3 separate regions of the Homo sapiens genome follow, and all the other regions are linked to region 1. Evidence: promoter capture Hi-C in human tissues and cell types (Jung and others, 2019). All regions are on one chromosome and are shown on one strand. The core of a region is centred on a gene start or on the middle of the fragment in contact, and the rest is flanking DNA. Distances in the headings are between cores, read along the strand shown.

Region 1 (2,700 bases), core at 129-2,628:
CAAGAGTGCTACAAAAACAGAGAGCTGGGTTGGGCAATGCCTGCTGACTCACCACAATCCAGTCATGTCAGTCTTTGATCAGAATCTCACTCACCAAGGACTTTCCTGTTCAGGGACTTTCAAGAGGTTGTTCCTTCTTCCTAGAATGTTTTTCCTCACATTCTTTCTTCTGGGAGAGTCCTACTCATCTTTCTGATTTCAATTTAAATATGACTGTCTCAGAGAGACATTTCTCATAAAGAGAAAAACCTGTATTCAGAAAGTCTGAGGCATTCCTTGACACTCACCATAAAATCAAAATGTGATGTATTTGTTAAACACTCTTATAGTGCCTTGTGTTTTCCTTAACAACACTTATCAGGGTCTGCATTTAGTTGTATGATTATTTGGTTACTGACTGATCCCCTCACTCAACTAGACTGAAGTACTCTGAGAACCAGAGCTACTTCTGCCTTATTCATTACAGCATCTCTATCACTTAACATACTCTCTGATGCATAGTATGGGCACAATGAACATCTGTAGGTTGAGTAACAAATATTTGTCAAGCGAGCGAGTAAATGAATAAATCAAGCAAAAAGCACAGAAGAGAAGTTTATAGTTCTCAACAGACCAAGACAAAAACATCTCGGATTCTGAGGAAACATATCACCCTTCAAACACTTTCTGTAGCGACCTCACACCTTCACAGCCACTACACTGTTTTTGCCCATGCTTCCTCACTTGCCCCTCACACAGATAGCCCCATGAGATAAAACAGAGTAGGCTTATCATAGGCATCTGACAGATGTGCCCACCGCCTCTTGTATTTCCTTCTTAACATTCATCACATCACAAAGACTTTCTCCCTCCAGACTTGTAAGCTCCTAGTGACACGGACCGATTCTTGTTCACCACAGGATCCCTATTGTGTTGCATGAACAAGAAGTAGAGTATCTCCAAAGAGTTGTCTAAGGTGACAATAAACACGGCCAATGAAAAGAAACCACTTTTTGTTGAACATCTATGTACCAAACCAAGTCAGTAAGGTAGGTACCATTCTGCGGATAAGTACCGTATACTTAAGTTCAGAGAGGTGAAATTACTCGCTCAAAGTCACGCAGAATAAACGTCACTCTGAACCCTGCATCTCAGTCCCACCTGCTGCAGTAGAGACGCCATCTCTTCCTGCAATGGGGTCAACGGCTTGGAGACTACAGGTGGCCGCTGCAGGCACAACGCGCCCAACAAGCGCCATGGGGATCCGTTGCTTGAGGGTGCGGCTGCAAGAGCCAGGCTGCGAGAGCTTAGACTGCCGGCCCAGAGCCTCTCGAACCGCCGCCAACCCCCCGCCACCCCTAACAGCGTCCGCCTTACGGGCGCCGCCATCTTTCGTTCTCCCACAATGCACCGCGGCTCCCAGGGATCCCTCAGCCGCGGGAGCGGCAAACTAGGGGAAAGCTCAGTCCCGGAACTGCTAGAACGAACCATTCGCATATGGAGGGGGTGACCCACCATCTCAGAACATTAAAAAAGGGAAAGAATCCCCTGGTGAACTACAGTGAAAGTCTTATTGAGCATTTAAATGGAAATAAAAATATTCAGTGGACCTAATGAAGAGTAGATGACTTTCCCTTCTGTCCCCTCCCCGACAGGCACTCATGGTACCGGCGCCGGCGCAGCTGTGACTGTCGCTGCAGACGGAAACTGACTGGGGTCAATTCAAGTCATGCAGGCTGTGAGAAACGCGGGGTCGCGGTTCCTGCGGTCCTGGACTTGGCCCCAGACAGCCGGGTAACAAATGACTGCCCCCTCGAGCCCACCGCCACCTCCAGGACTATGCTCCTACTCGTGTCCCTTGAGCCACCCGGGCCCCAGTGACCGTTAGGCCGTGGCCCTCACCGAGCTTTTCTTCCCAGCAGGGTCGTGGCCAGAACGCCGGCCGGGACCATCTGCACAGGCGCTCGACAGCTCCAAGACGCTGCGGCCAAGCAGAAAGTTGAACAGAACGCGGCTCCCAGCCACACCAAGTTCAGGTGAGCCCCACTTGGACCAGCCCTCTGGAGACCCGCAACCCCTGACTCTTGCCCGACACCCTCCAGAGTCAGAACCAGTGAATTTTCAGCTATGTCACTTGCTATCCGTGGGACCTTATGCAAATAAATCTGAGCCTCAGCCTTCTCATCTAAAAATGCGGATAATGCTGAGAGAGGTTGTGAGAATCAGATGAGCCGTGGTACAGAGTAAATGTTCAGTGAACATTCGTTAAATCAATGAGTGAATGTGAGATATCCATAACATGTATCAGCGTTCTTTTCTTCTGAGATGGAGATCTTTTCAGACCAATAACCTTCCCTGCCTCCAAAACAAAATGGGGAGGTAGAGGGCGCTAGCGATGGAACAGATGTTCCTGCACGTCTTACGGATGGTCCAGGGTGGGTTTTGTGCTCAGCCCTAGGAACTGGCATCTTGCTTCCCACCAGTGCCACCACCTCTGTATGCTGTATACACATCCACTTAACTTCACATCCATTTAACAAACATTTACCAAGAATCTACTATGAGTGAGACACCATGCTAGGTGCCGTGAATACAGATACAAAAGATCATTCCTCCCCACAAGTAGTTCACAGTCTTTGAGGGAAGACAAACATGCAAACATTTTAACCATAATCTGCTCAATAATATAATGGAGGTAAGCATTGGTTGGAAGTATGAAAT
Region 2 (2,700 bases), core at 19-2,518, 280 kb after region 1:
GGAAGCTGCAGTGAGCAGAGATCGCACCATTGCACTCTAGCCTGGGCGACAGAGCGAGATTCTGTCAAGAAAAGAAAAGAGCCCAGTGTGCCTTTGCGTAGTGATAGGCTTTGTAGTCAGTGATCATGCCTGCCCTGGTCTTCTCTACTCCAAGCTAGTCACCATCACCTTCCTCACACTTTCCCTCCTATAGCAAGGCCTCCAGTCTTCCCACCAGTATCAATCTCTTCCAGAGGCTTTTAGTCTGTGCACATATTGCTTCAAATATTGTGCCAACAGTTTGGCAATATTGCCCTTTGACTTGAAAATTAAAAGTCCCTCTTTTCTAAGAAAAGGCTATTTGTTCTCCAGCCATAGTAACAACTAAGCAGCACAAAGGATTTAAAACCTGACGTGCTACCTTGTCTTCAGTCTCACTGAAATCCATGCTCCTGAATCAGCCAATCATAAATGGCACATGATTCTGAAAGTCAGCCAATCAAAGATAGCTATATGCTTCTGCCATCCAATCAGCAATAGCTGCACTCTAATAACCACACCTCCTCAATTTAAGGTCAGCCAATCCCTTAATTCTCACTCTTGAAATTCTATTAATCCTTGAATTCCGTGCTTCCTCCAAACTTTGTTCAGAAAGACTGTCTCAAAGCACAATTTTCTCTTACTTTACAAACAGTAAATCCTGCTTTTTGTTTCAAGTTTTCACTATTGCCTTCTTCCTTTGATATCCCTAACAATTGTCTTTTCTAGGAGTTTATCCTAAGAAAATAACCAAGCATATGTGCAAAGATTTAGCATTAGAGATGACTTCGTTTATGATGGAGAAGCAGCATGTGTCCAACAGTAGCCTATTAGGTATAAATTTTGATATTTCCATCAAATGGAATAAATGCTAAAATAACCATGAAAAATCAAGTTGTGGCAGATTATTTTATTTTATTGATATGGGAAAATGTCCAAGACATGTTAGTGGAAAAAGCAGATTGTAATGTAGTATTTATAATATGATTCCAATTTTATGAAGTATTTAAGTATATATGTATAGGAAAAAAGACTAGAAGGATATATAGGAAGCCATCAATAGTTATTATAGGAGCTAGGATTACAGGCAATTTTCCTTCTTTCAATTTTCAGCATTTTCTTAATTTTCTGCAATGATACACATATTGCTTCTGTAATTTAAGAGAAAAGAGCATTTTTTAAAAGTAATATCCAGAATAGAACACAATCCACTGATGAGTGCAGAGAGCAAGACCGAGTACAGACAAATGCCTCCTTGATAATGCAGATACCGAATCTGATCATGTATCACATGCAGCTCCGTAATGCTGTAGGCACATATTGAGTTCAAGGTTAATTACATCCTCCTTGTTCTTTCCTCTTGTATACTCCCAGTCATGACCTCTCAAGTGCAATTTGTTAAAATTGAACTCATTTTCCTCTGGTTCCCTGCCTGCTCTGTCTACATATCCCCTCCCAACACAAACACACACACACACACACACACACACACACACACACACACACACCTTTCACCAAAGCAAGCTCTCCACAATCCTAAGTCCTCCCAGGCCTTCAGGCTCTTCTTCCCTTTGCATCCTGTCCCTTAACAAGCCCTCCAGATATTCTTCCAGAATGCCCTGTGCATTCGCCCCCTTCTGCCAAAACTCTACTTCAACTTTTCCTACCCGATAAGGTATATCAGACTGGCAACCTGAGAACCAAACATTGCCCCAAACTAGTTTTTCTTGACCCACATACTATTGAATTATAGACCAACAATTATGGATTAAGAGGCTTCACATAAAAATACAAAATTCTGGCCTCTTACTAAAATAAAACAAAACAAAATGCTATGTTGAAGTTGAGAAGTGACTTCCCCTTTAGACACAGCTAATCCCTTCCAGTTTTCCACAGTCTCCAGCACTCCCTATTGCACCTCTAATACCAAGAGTTCCAGAGGTCATTTAATGTCAAACTTGCTCAGTTGTTTTTCTTGCACAGTCCCCGTGGGCATTTGAGTGTGTGACCCTGACCTAGATTCAATGAATTTTAGTCGCAAGCAGCCTTCAAAATCCTTTTAGAGTAGAAATATCTTCTATATATTTTTAAAATAGCATTTTATCTTTGTTCTAATTAATTACAAAATGATAAATTGCCTAAGAATTGATAAGGTAGAAAATGCATCTCAGCTTTCCCTTTTTATCTCTGAACAAACAAGAAAAGGAAGACTGAGGCTGGGCACAGTGGCTCACACTTGTAATCCCAGCACTTTAGGAGGCCAAGGCAGGAGGATTGCATGAGGTCAGGAATCTGAGACCATGCCTATGGTCCAAGCTACTCAGGAGGCTGAGGCAGGAGGATCATTGAGCCCAGGAGATTAAGGCTGCAGTGAGCCATCATGCCACTGCTCTCTAGCCTGGGTGACAGAGCAAGACCTTGTCACAAAGAGAAAAAGAAAAGGAAGACTAAGTTGACCACATAATACAATATTTTGTTTCTTAAGTTGCACTAGCTGAAATGGTCTTTTATTTTTAAAAACCATACATTTCAGCTTTCATCTACATGTTGTTATTAAGAAAGAATCATGAGCTTTTTATGGAAGAAAATAAAAGACACGTGATGCTTTCATTGAAGAAGTTCACATGTCTTATTTTTGGCTGGTGTCCTAAAAAGGAAATTGTGGTAAAAAAAGAGATAGAT
Region 3 (2,869 bases), core at 288-2,787, 330 kb after region 1:
GAACTACCTGAGACTGGGTAACTTATGAAGAAAAGAGGTTTAATTCACTCACGGTTCTGCAGGCTCTACAGGTAGCATGACTGGGAAGGCCTCAGGAAACTTACAGTCATAGTGGAAGGCGAAGGGGAAGCAAGCACAGCTGACCATTGCAGATCAGGAGAGAGCGTGCAGGGGGAGGTGCTACACGCTTTTAAACCATCAGATCTTGTGAGAACTCACTCACTATCACGAGAACAGCCAGGGGGAAATCCACCCCCACGATCCAATCACCTTCCACCAGGTCCCTCCCCCAACACTGGGAATTACAATTCAACATGAGTTTTGGGTGGGGACACAGAGCTAAACCATATCAGGCAGCTTTCTAAACATTCCTGTCTTCAGTTTCTTCATCTGTGAAATGGAGTTAGTGAGACTCCCTACCTCATAGGGTGATTGTGAGGTCTGTTGAAGCGCATAGCACAAGGCCTGGTAGGCAGTAAGAGCTCAATAAGTGTTACCCTAAAGGGAAGAAAATCCTGACATATGCCGCAATATGACTGAACCTGGAAGACATGATGCTAAGTGACTAAGCCAATCGCAAAAAGACAAATTTGGCGCTAATCCACTTACATAAGGTACTGACAGTAGTTAAATTCATAGAGACACAAAGTAGAATGGTGGTGGCTACGGGCAGAGGGTAGGGGTAATTAGGAATTATTATTAAATGGGTACATAGTTTTCATTGCAGAAGATAAAAAAAGTTTTGAAGATGGATAGTAGTGATGATTATATAACAATGTGAATGTACTTAAAGGCACTGAACTGTATGCTTAAAATGGTTTAAATGATGAATTTTATATTATGTATATTTTACTACAATAAATAAGTAAATAAATATGGCCATAATAATGAGGCTGTGTCAGCCCATGGAGGAACTGGCATTCCATTTTTTTGAACTTGAGAATTTGAGACTAGATAGAGTACTCTCAGCATTTTGGAAATGCCTGTTGGTAATGTATTTGGTAGAAGACTATTTTAAGACTGTAATGCTAACAAGTAAATGTCCTAAGAATAAAAGGTAACCCAGCTAAGTACTGATTTTTTTCCTTACATATTCTTCATTTTCTCCCCTTAAAAAAATATGCCCTAAAAAAAAAATACAGCAATAACAACCACTAAAATGTCAGGAAGACTATTCCCCCGCACTATAATATCAAATGAGTGGCAAGTTTTGTGGGGAAAAGTCATGCCCACATCTTAGCAGATCATTTTTAAGCTATGGGGATGCTGCCTGCACCTCTTCTATTTCAATTCTAGCAAATGTTCATGAGATATCATTTCTGCTTATTTTATAAGTGTATATTCTGTATCTATACCATCATGTGTGGAAATCTGGGACAACAATTTTTCTGAATAATCTAATATTTACCACTGAAAGAAACTAAAAATATCAAGCCCAATGTGACAAAGGTTGAGAAGCCAGTCCCAAAAGACTCTAATGGCTGGAATAAGGAAAAGAATAGAGAAGAGCCAGCTACGATCTGGAGTGCGGGAGCCCCTTAGGGTTCGGGGTCAGGGAGAGAAGGTGAGCAGGATCGCATGAGCCTCAGGGGCTGGGGCTGCCAGGAAGTACAAAGCCTAAATCCTCCGACTTCTCTTCTTATTCCAGACTTGCTTGGAAAAAGCTGTTGATGATGATGATGATGATGATGGTGGTGGTGGTGGTTGTGATGATGGTGGTGGGATGGATGCTGATGATGATGGTGATACGTAACATTCCACTCAGCATCACTCACTGAGTATTCTCAATGATAAAAAAAAAAACACTAGTGAGTAATGAATAAAATGCTTGCCATAATTTCCTCTTTTATAAATGGTAGGGTTTTACTAAAAATAAGAATCTGCTATGAATTCAGAAAAAAAAAATTGAAACTGAAGCTTTAAGAGAGTTTCCTTAAACGTGCCCTTCAATTTCTATGTCTTTGGTGACACAGCACTTTCCCGTTACTGTATGTCATTATTCCACACAGACCCGTGGAGGCTTGTGAGTGTTTCATTAACTGTCTCCATGTTCTTTATTATAACATTTCCCTCCTACTTTGCCACTAGTACAGTGTTAAAGTAATAAAACAGCACTTTTCAAGTGTTCCACTAGTTCTCACTAGACTCCACTCCCTGGCCCAGTTCTGCTATAAGAAGGCTTTTCTATATCATGTTTCTATGGCCCTTTGCTTCCAAAAAGGATCACAACGTTCTCTACACATATTACATATAGTATTCATTGTTGCCACACTCCTATGAGGTGGGTATTTTTAGCTTCTTTTACAAACACAGAAAACAGCACACAGGAGAGAATGTACTTACTCAGGCACACCAAATTGTGGGGGCTAGGGGGAAGGAAGAAAATTAACCATCCTTGCACTTTGAGCCAGATCAGTTACTAGGGGCTGACATTCCATATCTTATTTTAATTCTCACAACAATTCCATAAGATAGCTCCATTTTACAGATGTGAAACCAAAATCCAGAGAGGTTAAGAAACTCACCCAAGGTTCCCATGCCAGACCTGGGATTCACATCCAGTGCTCCCGATTACACAGGGAATCTCCTTGCTCCACAGCTCTCTTTGTTGCTTGAGATACACAGGAATCCCTTTCACGGGGGCCCGCATGGAAACAGTCTTCATTTTAATTGCCTGCAAGATTAAATATCAAGCAACAGTGAGATGTAGTTCTGAAACTCAACGATGTTTGGCCATACCGGTAGGAGCAGAATATCCAAATGGTTAGAGAAAAGAGTTGTCCTGGCTCCCCTCTAATCAGTCCACACCTGGGCTTGTGCATCTAATGCCGGGCATTGCATTTTTGAGGGGCATCCACAAACAAGGTTC

Evidence for each region. Contacts are between HindIII fragments. The study calls those that stand out against the background at their distance.
Region 2: a fragment that was not itself captured here is called in contact with the fragment with the promoter of MRPL46 in region 1 in 2 of the 25 tissues and cell types used here (mesendoderm cells and neural progenitor cells).
Region 3: a contact is called between a fragment that was not itself captured here and the fragment with the promoter of MRPL46 in region 1, in 2 of the 25 tissues and cell types used here (H1 embryonic stem cells and IMR-90 fibroblasts).

Annotation. Positions count from the first base shown.
Region 1 is chr15:88,466,010-88,468,709 of GRCh38, forward strand. It overlaps MRPL46 (mitochondrial ribosomal protein L46), which reads right to left and starts at 1,379. Exons shown (of 4, transcript NM_022163.4): 1 at 1,141-1,379. The coding sequence starts at 1,368. It overlaps MRPS11 (mitochondrial ribosomal protein S11), which reads left to right and starts at 1,699. Exons shown (of 6, transcript NM_022839.5): 1 at 1,699-1,773; 2 at 1,899-2,015. The coding sequence starts at 1,709. RefSeq lists enhancers at 1-913, 1,380-1,549. The HindIII fragment of the contact is 11,540 bases long and covers 1-2,700 here.
Region 2 is chr15:88,749,411-88,752,110 of GRCh38, forward strand. No RefSeq gene overlaps it. Among named protein-coding and RNA genes, the nearest start is that of ACAN, 53 kb to the right of the region's middle. The HindIII fragment of the contact is 5,029 bases long and covers 1-2,700 here.
Region 3 is chr15:88,796,131-88,798,999 of GRCh38, forward strand. LOC105370960 (a long non-coding RNA gene) reads right to left here. Exons shown (of 3, transcript XR_001751648.1): 2 at 2,526-2,674; 3 at 332-1,774. Among named protein-coding and RNA genes, the nearest start is that of ACAN, 5.9 kb to the right of the region's middle. The HindIII fragment of the contact is 7,841 bases long and covers 1-2,869 here.